Regions from separate parts of the Homo sapiens genome. Here region 2 is linked to region 1. Evidence: promoter capture Hi-C in 16 types of primary human blood cells and fetal thymus (Javierre and others, 2016). All regions are on one chromosome and are shown on one strand. The core of a region is centred on a gene start or on the middle of the fragment in contact, and the rest is flanking DNA. Distances in the headings are between cores, read along the strand shown.

Region 1 (5,168 bases), core at 2,576-5,075:
TGGTAGCCTTGCTTGCAGGTAGCAATGAAGTAGTCACGGAACTGGTACTGAGGCTGCAGGTTCTGGATGATGGTGAACTCGTCTAGGGTCTTGGGCTGGGGGCACTTGATGACTGTTGGGGAGACCAGGGGGCATATTTATTTCAGAGCCACTTGTCCTTCCTTCTTCCCCCCTTTTCCCCATTGCTGGCCATCGAGGGAGGCCTGCAGGGAGCCTTACTCTCGGTGGTGTAGCGCAGCTTCCAGCCCCGGCTGTCCCCCGACTCATCTGTGAAGAACAGCAGATCCACAGCATTGCTGCTGGTGTCGAGGTCGGGGGGCCTTTGCTTCCCACAGAACTCGCCAATGTTCTTCCCGTTGGCATAGATCTAGTAGGGGAGGAGGGTTTTTTTTTTTCAGCTTGGACGTTTTTACACAGGGCCAACTGGGTAGTAGCCTGGTGGCCAGGGTGGTGGTGGTGGTGATGAAATCCTGCCTTATGTGTGTTTTCAGGGGAAGGTGAAAAGGGATCCCCATGACCCAATTCTAGTTGTGTGGGAACTTACCCAGCCCATGGGTGATGTTGGCCGTTCCTGCCCCAGCTGGCCAGGGGATCCAGGAGGAAGTTGGGACAAGAGGAGCCAAGTGCAGACAGAAGGGGAGGAAGGGGTCTTTCAGGGGTAGGACGGCTGTACCTGTAGCTGGTCATAGGGGCAGTGTACTTGCTGGTGGTCATCAATATCAAAAGGCTCCAGGAACTTGAGGTGCAGGGTGAGGCCCCGCTCCACCCGGATGCTGTAGTTGCAGCGCAGGTCAGGGGGGTAGGACCGAGGGTACTCCAGGCTGGAGATGTAGCCTGATGCCTCCGTGTACAGCTCGCTGCTGCACTCAGCTGTGAGAGCAGAGCCACAGGGCATTACGGGGGACTCCAGCTGGCCCAGCAAGCCCTGGCTCAACCCCTTCCCCTCTGCTACACCACTCTGGCTCACCCTGGCAGGAATGCCTGTCTTCCTGAAGCTCATAGCCTGGACGGCAGGAACAGAAGTAGCCTCCAACGTAGTTGTGACACAGGTGCTGGCACTGGGGCTGGGGATCCTCCTCCCCTGATTTGCTCCGGGAAGCACATTCATCAAGGTCTGGAAGGCATTCAGGAAGGAGGGTTAAGCTTCTGCTGGGAGACCTGAGTAGTGGCTCTGATCTTAGGGAGGTCACTCACCAGAGACCTAAAGACAAAGGCATCTTTAGGCCACCTGGACCTCCAGGCCTCTCCAATGCTCTCTGGGGACTGCTCCATGGGGACAGAGCCCAGGTTGACAGGCCTCGTTAGGAAAAGCTCTCTCGAGGGGAGGAACAAGGAAAGCCAGGCTTTCGGCTTCTTTGCATTCAAGATTCCCTTTCTTGGCCCCCCATTCAATATGGCTGAGGTCAGAGAAAAGGGATCCCTGGGGGGCTACTCACCCACAGCTTGGTAGTAGGCCAGGAAGCCCTTGTAGAACATGATGGTCCCATTCTCCTCGTTGGAGAAGTCTGTGTGGAAGGTCAGCAGCATCTTGTTCCCTTGGGACATAAATTCCTTCTTTCCCGGGGGGTTGCCCAGTGGAGAACCCAGTTGCCCACAGAACCTCCCCAGGCTTTTCTTATCAGCAGAGATCTGGTGGAAGAAGGACAGGGGGTAGGAAGAAGATCTGTTGCGGAGTGGCGCACGTGGTGGCTCAGTGATGGTCCTCCTTGTCTCGCCCAGAGTGCATCATGCACCACAATGGCTCTGGCTGGTCACTACCTGCTGGGCTCAGCTGCTGCAAACTTCCCCATGTGACTTTCAGCTGTTCCCTGAGTCTCCCACTGACTCACTCTTTGCGTGTTGTCCTGGACTGGGTACCTCACCCTTTCCCTGTTTTCTGCTCCTCTGGCAGGTTTCAGGTCCTTCTCCATCCCCACCACCTCCTATGGCCTGTTCCCCTGGGGTCCTGGTTGTCTGTACCCAGCCTTTACCTGCCCCTCATTCCCAGAGCTCAGACAGCTCCGCTTTATTTTCTGTCTTCAGATTCCACCTCAGCCTAATCAAACCATTCACACCTCGAGTGCCTCCTGATGCCCTCGGCGGAACATGAGCCCTGAAGCCCACCCATCTCAGTGTCAGCAGGCACTGCCTCGTCCCTCTTCCTTCCTCCTCACAGCCTCCTCAACCTCTCCTTGACTCTGCCAGCAAACGCCCTCCCCCAACACTGCACACTCGCCAAGTCTTCTGAGCCGGTAAGACGTGCCATTGTCATGTAATTCACGCATAATCTCCAGGGGTCTCCTGGGAATGGTAGTTGTTGGACCTTCGCAGGCTCTGCTTGAGCCCTGAATCTCATTTTTACTGGATAGAGAAAGACAGGCCTGGGAAGGTACCCTTGGTTGCCACAGAGGTGAGGGTTCTGAGCACACTGTCCTTGCTGAAGGCTATTCCTGTGCTGCCAGAGCCCACATTTCTCCTCCTCATGTCCCTGTGTTCCTGTTGAAGCAGGCAGCCATGTCAATCATTTCCTTGGAGACAGGGAAGCTGAGGCACAGTGGTTTCCCAAAGACTCTCAGCTAGACAGCAGATGGGGAAGGTTTTCCTGACTCAGTGGATGTTGAATTTCCTGAGTGGGTCCTGTCCCCTTCCTTCTCTGTGCTTCTCCCCTCAGTGCTCACCGAGGGCCTCTACACCAGTGAGCGCCCATCCAGGGCATCCCCGGGCTCTCAGAGAGGCCGTTGGCCATCAGCTCTTGTGGGGCTGGGCTGTGTCTGGGGGTGTGCATGCCATACAGATCCCAGATCCCAGAGGGCCCAGTTTTGTCTCCCCTCTGCCCGCCCATCCTGCCCCTACCTTGACATAATCATAGAAGCAGCCTTCAGAAGGCTCCAGGTCAAACTGCTGGAAGACGAGCTTCACCCTGTATCCCGTGGGGACTGTGATCACAGTGGTTGTTTCAAAGTTGTTGGGGTAAGGCTTGGGGAACAGAGGGGAAGTCACCTCCCCAAATAACTTCTGAGGGATGGGAATGGAGCCTCCTGCCCTGCAGAACAGGGCCGGCACCAGGAGGTACAAGAGCCACCTGCCAAAACAAAAGAGAGTATCTGGAGCTGGAGGGGTTCAGCACTCTTGCCATGTGGGCAGTGGCTGTGGCAGGGGATGAGACGGCCATACCACTGGGCATTCTCCTCTCTGCCCACCCTGAACCTCACAGACATGTTCTCAGCAGGGGTGCGTGGGTGGGGAGGATGGCCTGTGCAGCTGCTGCATCGGGTCACTCTCCAGGGCAGTGTCCAGTCCAGAGGCCACCACACTCCCCTCACACTCCCTTTCCAGCCTCCTCCCCTGCCCGGACGCGTCCCTCCCCTCCCCTTCCAGGAATAGGACTGGCTTGGGACCAGTTAATGGAGGGTGAGGGTTTCCACCCGTGGGTCTCTGAAAGGGCTCCCACAGGTTCAGCAAGAGCGTCTGGGAGAAACCATCTGTGGAGTGGGGGACACAGGCACAGAGTGTCCCGTCCTGGGCAAGGGGTCCCCTCCTCTCGCTGCTCCCTGCCAAGAGCCCAGAGGGAAGAAAGGACCATGGCATGAGCATCTATGTATGAAGTCTCCTCTGATCCCTAGGAGGAGGGATGGGGCGTGTGTTGTGTGTGTCCACGCGTGTGCACAGTGGAACTGATGAGGTGTGTGAAGAGAGAAGGGTGTTCCTGTCTCCCTGAATTGCCTCCCATGCCCTGGCTTCTCCCCTGGCTTCTCCCTCCCACCTGGTTGCCCATCACCCTTACTCACATTTCTCAAGGCCCGTGTTGAATCCTGGGCTCTCCCGACAGCGTCTTCGTGCACTGTGTGCAGAGGGAGCCCGCGTCATGCACAGCAGGGAGGGGAGGGTTTTCTGTGGAGTGGAGGGGGGACCATTCCCGGAGGAATGTTGGAGGGAATGAACTATTTGCATAAACAAAAGATCTGAGTTTCCACTTTAATTTAGTTTTGGTTTTGAAATCCCTGTTTGTGGTGCCACCTGCTGGTCGGTGAGGGAAAGGGCTAAGGAGACGGGAGTCTGGCTTTTTAGGGCCCGGGGAGCCTTGGGTTGGAGGCCCAGATGTCTCAGTCTCTAAATCTGATCAGCTTCTCCCTTCTTCCAAGACTTTCCTGGGGGCTGCTGCTGTGTTTACAAGGTTCCTACCAAAGCAGTGGGAGACCACAGGTGGTGGTGAATTCTCTTTTCTGGGCTGTCCTTTCCCATTGACCCTGTTCTTCCTGCCCTCATTCAGCCCACAGCCCTGGTCCAAGAATGGCCCGGGTTTCAATGCCCAGGACGTAATGATAGGAACACTGGGGCAGAGGAGGGTGTGTGGGAGCGGGCAGAGGAGAGAGGAGCTTGGTTGCCTTGGGGCCCTGGCCTGCTTTAGCCATGAATGACACTTGGACATAGAATAGGGTTGGCCATGTCAGGGCAACCCTAAATCAGCCCTGGGTTTGAGACCCTCTGGGGCGGCTGCGGAGGGGGTAAAATGTCCCCATCTCCTTAGCATCTGCTCAACACAACTGCCAGGGCTGAAGCTAAGGATGCGGGTGTGGAGCAAGAGGGACTCGGTTTTTCTGAGATGAAGCCAGGCCCCTGGGAGGGAGGAGGGACCCTAGTCTCTCCTGTCCATCAGGCCATAGTGTCCTGCTTTAAAACTTTTGCTCTTGGCCACGTGTGGTGGCTCATGCCTGTGATGCCAGCACTTTTCGAGGCCAGGGTGGGAAGATCTCTTGAGCCCAGGAGTTCGAAACCAGCCTGGGCAACATAGTGAGATCTCGTCTCTAAAAGTTAAAATAAATTAAAAAACAATTTCATTGTTTTTGGAAGGCTTTCTTCATCAACTCTCCATGGCACCAAATATCTGATGGCACTTCATCCCACGGAGGGGCTTGGGCTGCAGAGCAGGACTCTGCGTTCTTAAGCCTTTGTAGGCTGTTCTGCTTGTTTCCCTTATTAGATGAATCCCTCCAACCTCCACCCTTCTGCCCCCACCCCCGTTCATCCATTTATGGGCTACCTGTTTAATGTGCAAGACACTTTCCCAGGCAATAGATTGCAAGAATTCACAGAGCTGATGCAGTTCCCCATCAGGCAGTGACCACATCATCAGTAGTTAGACAGCAGGCACACAGAAGGTGCAAGATCCACCAACGCTTGGAGGGTTT
Region 2 (5,168 bases), core at 1,530-4,029, 51 kb before region 1:
GCTTTGTTCGTTATTCTGAGTGGCAGTCGGGAAGGGCAGCTGAACCCCGCCCGGGGATCTAGAGTTGCTGGTCAGGAACTGGAGAGAGGCCTGGCGGGCCTGGTTGTGTTTGTATTTGGGCTTTCTCTGGGGCCGTGGAGTGATAGGAAAGGTTGGCGTTTCCCTTGGAGATGCACCTTTTCTAGTGATTGTGTTTGCAGGGTGAGTCTGACCCGCTGAGCCACAATGAGCAAGGACAAGGAATATTTTTCAATTAACTTCTTAATTCTCGTGAGTGTGGCTTATGATCTCCTTTGTGGTTTGTTGATTATAAGGCGCACCCTGACGTTAGAAATAATAAAATGAGTGTGCCTTAGCATCAGAGTGTCACCATCTGACGCTCTAGGACTGGGCAGAGCCCAGGTCCTCTTCTCTGGAGTACTCGGCTACCACCTTGCCGTGCAGGGGGCTCCCTCCCTCCCTTCACTGCACACTCTCGGTTACTTCTTTCTCAATTCCATCCGCACAGCTTCCTGCCTCAACCTTTTCTGCCTTCTGCAGGAGCAGATGTTCCCACAAGGAACACGGGAGGTGCCAAGGTTGGGTTTCCAGCATAAGGCTGAGCCTTCTGCCCTCGGTTTGACCCTGGGTGGCACTGTTAGCTGGAGGCCACGAGAGCTGCCTTGGACGTGTGGGGCCAGCGAGCAGCGGCCCCTCACTCGTGGAGCATTGTTGCAGCCGGGCAAGTCTGCCATTGCTCATCCTCTTAGTCTTGCTCCCAGCTGCGACTTGTTCTTACATGTTCTAGATGCAAGGCTTTTGTGTGTGTGTGGTTTGTAAATATTTTGTCCCAGTCCATCGCTTATCTTTTACATCCTCTTAAGGGGGGTTTTGCAGAGAAAAGGTTTTTTTCTTTTCAAATTTGGTGAAGTCTGATTTATCAATTTTCCTTTTTAAGGATCTGATTTTGGTGTCATGGTTAAGAATTCCTCAATGACTCCCAGGTCCCAAAGATTTTTCCTACCTTTTCTTTGCTCTTTCTTTCTTTCCTTTCTTTTTCTTTCTTTTTTTTTTTAGATGGAGTCTTGCTCTTGTTGCCCAGGCTGGAGTGCAATGGCGTGATCTTGACTCCCTGCAATCTCTGCCTCCCTGGTTCAAGCAATTCTGCCTCAGGCTCCGGAGTAGCTGAGATTACAGGTGTGCACCACCACACCCGGCCCAGGCTGCAGTGCAGTGGCACGATCTCGGCTCACTGCAAGCCCTGCCTCCCAGGTTCACGCCATTCTCCTGCCTCAGCCTCCTGAGTAGCTGGGACTACAGGCGCCCGCCACCACACCCGGCTAATTTTTTTGTATTTTTAGTAGAGACAGGGTTTCACCGTGTTAGCCAGGATGGTCTTGATCTCCTGACCTCGTGATCTGCCTGCCTCGGCCTCCCAAAGTGCTGGGATTACAGGCGTTGAGCCACCGCACCTGGCTTCTCTGTTTGGTTTTCTATAACATTATTCTTTTTTTTTTATAGAGACAGTGTCTCATTATGTTGCTCAGGTTGGTCTTGAATTCCTGGTCTCAAGCCATCCTCCTGCCTCAGCCTCCCAAAGTGCTGGGATTACAGGCGTGACCCACTGCACCTGGCCAGCATTCTTTTTTTTTTTTTTAAACTGTTGAACACTCTGTAATTATTAGGTAAAATTAATAGTACTTCACAATTATATATATCACTTTACAGTTTACAAAGTTACTAAGTAGACATTTGTTTTGATGCCCCAAAATAAAATTTAACTTCTTTGTCCTCCCTTCTCCCCTCCATCAAGGAAAGACTAAGGAACATTTAATCAGAAAAGGCAATATAAGTGCATCAATCTGTACAGAACTGCAAAGAATAAAGGGGAGGAGGGTAGGACCCTGAAGAGGGCCACAGGGACTTCAGGAAGGAGAAAACCAGAGTGTTAAACGTGAGGAAAGCCCAGGGGTGACAGGGAGTTAACCACCATAAGGGGCAGGTTGTATTCACTACATAAAAGGAGGGGCACACGGCATATGTTTCACATTCTAAAATAATATGACAATATCATAACTGAAGAGCTGAAGTTGAATTTTGTGGTTTCTCAGAACACAAGTAGAAGATGACCACCAACCATGGTTTCTGAATAAACTGAGTTCAAAGTGCATCTGGTTGCAGCAGGGGGCTTCCTTGGACTCTGATACTAGAAATTTAACAAAGGTAATTCGAGGAGCTGCGATTTTACATAGTGGTGGCATCCTAGGGGGCATCTATCGCATCAGTTAAGTTTAATATCTGGCAATCATGGAAAAGGAGTTTCTGAGCAGGTAATACTTGGGCCATCTCTTGGAGATTCCTGCTGTAAGGACTAAGTTTCTCCAGAGAAAGCACTTGCCTGGGTATGACTCAGGGCCGGGCAAAAATTCACACTATGAATCTGGTGGAAGGGGGAGAAGTATGCCTGGTGGGACCACATTCCCATAATTCTCTAACCTCACATCTCTGTAGAGTTCCCTCTGAACAAGGTCCAGGTATCTCCATTCCTCTTGAGTAAGGTGCACAGCCACATCCTCAGATGTCACAAACTGCTGATACCTGGCTGTCAGGAGCGCAGCTGCCTGATCTCCTGGGCTGTCCTCATGGGGAAAGGCAGGCACCTGGGGAACAGGTGGAACCCTAGTGAGTCCCTGTTCCATGTCGGTGTCCTGCACAAAATGAGGCTTTGGAGTCAGACTCTCAGACTGGGTCTCCAAAAACTGAAATCGGACCCTTGGTGAGCCTGCTGCTTCCTGGGCTGGTATTTTCTCCATCCCTGTTCTGGAGGACAATGACCGTCGCAGCTTGCATCAGGACATGGCCACTGGGTCCTGATGGCGAGGCCCGCCCTCGGTCTGTGGGGTGAACTGGGGCTGAAGAGAAATAGGCCTTTGCACCCAAGCATCTGCACACTCTTGGGGAAGGAAACCACTGTCCCATATTCTTTACATTATCCTTGTCATTTAGGATCTCCAGGATTGGCTTCAGTGTTAATGATTCTTTGTCATTATTTTCCTGTAAGAGTGCCCTTTTATCTAAAGATTTCAGTTCATTTATTTGACAGAAATCTTCAACCATATATATAAAAATATATAAATATATATATATACTTTTTTTTGGTGACAGAGTCTCATTCTGTCACCCAGGCTGGAGTGCAGTGGCGTGATCTCAGCTCACTGCAACCTCCGCCTCCCAAGTTCAAGCGATTCTCCTGTCTCAGCCTCTGGAGTAGCTGGGATTACAGGTGTGCACCACCACACCTGGCTAATTTTTGTATTTTTAGTAGAGATGGGGTTTCACCATGTTGGCCAGGCTGATCTTGAACTCCTGACCTCAGGTAATCTGCCTGCTTTGGCCTCCCAAAGAGCTGGGATTACAGGCGTGAGCCACCATGCCCATACTCAACCATATCTTTGAATACTTTCCCATTCCAGTTGTTATATTCTTTTCTCAAAACACCAATCATGTATCTCCTTGATCCATTTTCATCAGCGTCTCTGCGATTTTATCCCTTTGCACTTTTCCATTTTGTTTTGGGTGATTTTTTTCAAGACTGGCCTCCATGTACTATCTATGTTTTCATAGTATGTATTTGACTTCTTGCTGTTTCTATAATGAACTTTTCATTTTTGTGGTGGCTTTCCTGTTATTTCCAATTTCTCAGTTAAGTTCTACCACATCACTTTTTTCTCTCTAAAAATATGCATCTGTTATTCTCCCTTGTATCTTTTTTTTGAAAAAGTCCATGCTTTAACTTTTGTGAGTATAGAAAAAATATGTCTGACATCTTTCTTCTGCTTGCTGGAATAACTTTCTAAAAATAGACTTTATTTTTATAGGGCAGTTTTAGATTTACAGAAAAATTGAGCGTATAGTACAGAGAATTCCCATACAGCTCCTACACGGTTTCCCCATTATTAATGTCTACATTAGGGTGGAACATTTGTTACAATCATGGAAGTGATGTTGATACATTACTATTAACTAATGTCCATAATTTATTCAGATTCCCTTAGTTTTTACCTAATGTCGTTTTCCTGTTCCAGGGCCTCCTCCAGAATACCACATTACGTTTAGTTTTCATGTCTCCTAGGCTCCTCCTGGCTGTTACACTTTCTCAGACCTTCCTTGATTATGATGACCTCGAAGTTTTGAGGAGTACTGGGAAAGAGTATTATAGGATGCCCCCTACTGGAATTTGTCAGATGTTTTTCTCATGATTATACAGGGATTATGGCTTTTGGGGAGGAAGATCTCAGAGGTAAGTGCCATTCTCGTCTCATTGTATTACCATTATTTATTTATTTTTTAATTTTTATTTTTTGAAATGGAGTCTCACCCTGTCGCCCAGGCTGGAGTGCAATGGTGCGATCTTGGCTCACTGCAACCCCTGTCTCCTGGGTTCAAACGATTCTCCTGCCTCAGGCTCCTGAGCAGCTGGGATTACAGGTGTCTGCCACTACACCCAGCTAATTTTTTTTGTATTGTTTTTAGTAGAGACAGGGTTTCACCAGGTTGGCCAGGCTGGTCTCCAACTCCTGACCTCGTGATCCACCCTCCTAGGCCTCCCAAAGTGTTGGGATTACAGGTGTGAGCCACCGCAGCTGGCCATATTAGCATGATTTATGACTGTTGATGCTGACTTTGATCACCTGCCCAAGGTAGTGTTTATCAGATTTCCCCCCTGTAAATTTGCTCCCTGTCCCTTCCATACTGCAGTCTTAGGAAGGAAGTCACTATAAGCAGCCCATGCTTAAGGAGTGGGGAGTTCTGCTCCCCGTCCTTTACGATGGGACAGCTACATAATTTATTTGGAATTCTACAGAGAATGCTGGGGTAACTTTTTCTGAAGTGGTTTTTGATCATCTGTCTTTTGTTTGCTATTATTTTTCCCTTTTCATTGGGGAGTGGTTTTTGTTCATATGTATTAATTCAGATTTGTTTGCTTATTTTGCAACTTAGCTCTCAAATAATTTGAGGGAAGGGATAGGGGATTTTTTTTTTTAGAGGGAATTGGCAGTTCTGACTCCCTCATGTTGTATCTAACCAAGAACCAAGTTGACATTTCCTCTGCTCGATTACTTCTCTCTCCCTCTTTTTTGCATCCCTCTTCCTCCACGCCACTTTTGGAAAAGCACCTCAGCTCCCTG

The links. The method cuts DNA at HindIII sites, captures the fragments that hold promoters and counts their contacts. A CHiCAGO score of 5 or more calls a contact.
Region 2: a contact is called between a fragment that was not itself captured here and the fragment with the promoter of C1R in region 1, in 9 of 17 cell types (megakaryocytes, M2 macrophages, M0 macrophages and 6 more). The highest score is 9.0, in megakaryocytes.

Annotation. Positions count from the first base shown.
Region 1 is chr12:7,088,620-7,093,787 of GRCh38, forward strand. C1R (complement C1r) reads right to left here and starts at 3,826. Exons shown (of 11, transcript NM_001733.7): 1 at 3,768-3,826; 2 at 2,833-3,061; 3 at 1,437-1,629; 4 at 968-1,114; 5 at 674-870; 6 at 220-367; 7 at 1-112. The coding sequence starts at 3,769. RefSeq lists an enhancer at 3,874-4,168. The HindIII fragment of the contact is 12,054 bases long and covers 1,142-5,168 here.
Region 2 is chr12:7,038,850-7,044,017 of GRCh38, forward strand. It overlaps the pseudogene LOC100419825. Among named protein-coding and RNA genes, the nearest start is that of C1S, 19 kb to the right of the region's middle. The HindIII fragment of the contact is 6,449 bases long and covers 1-5,168 here.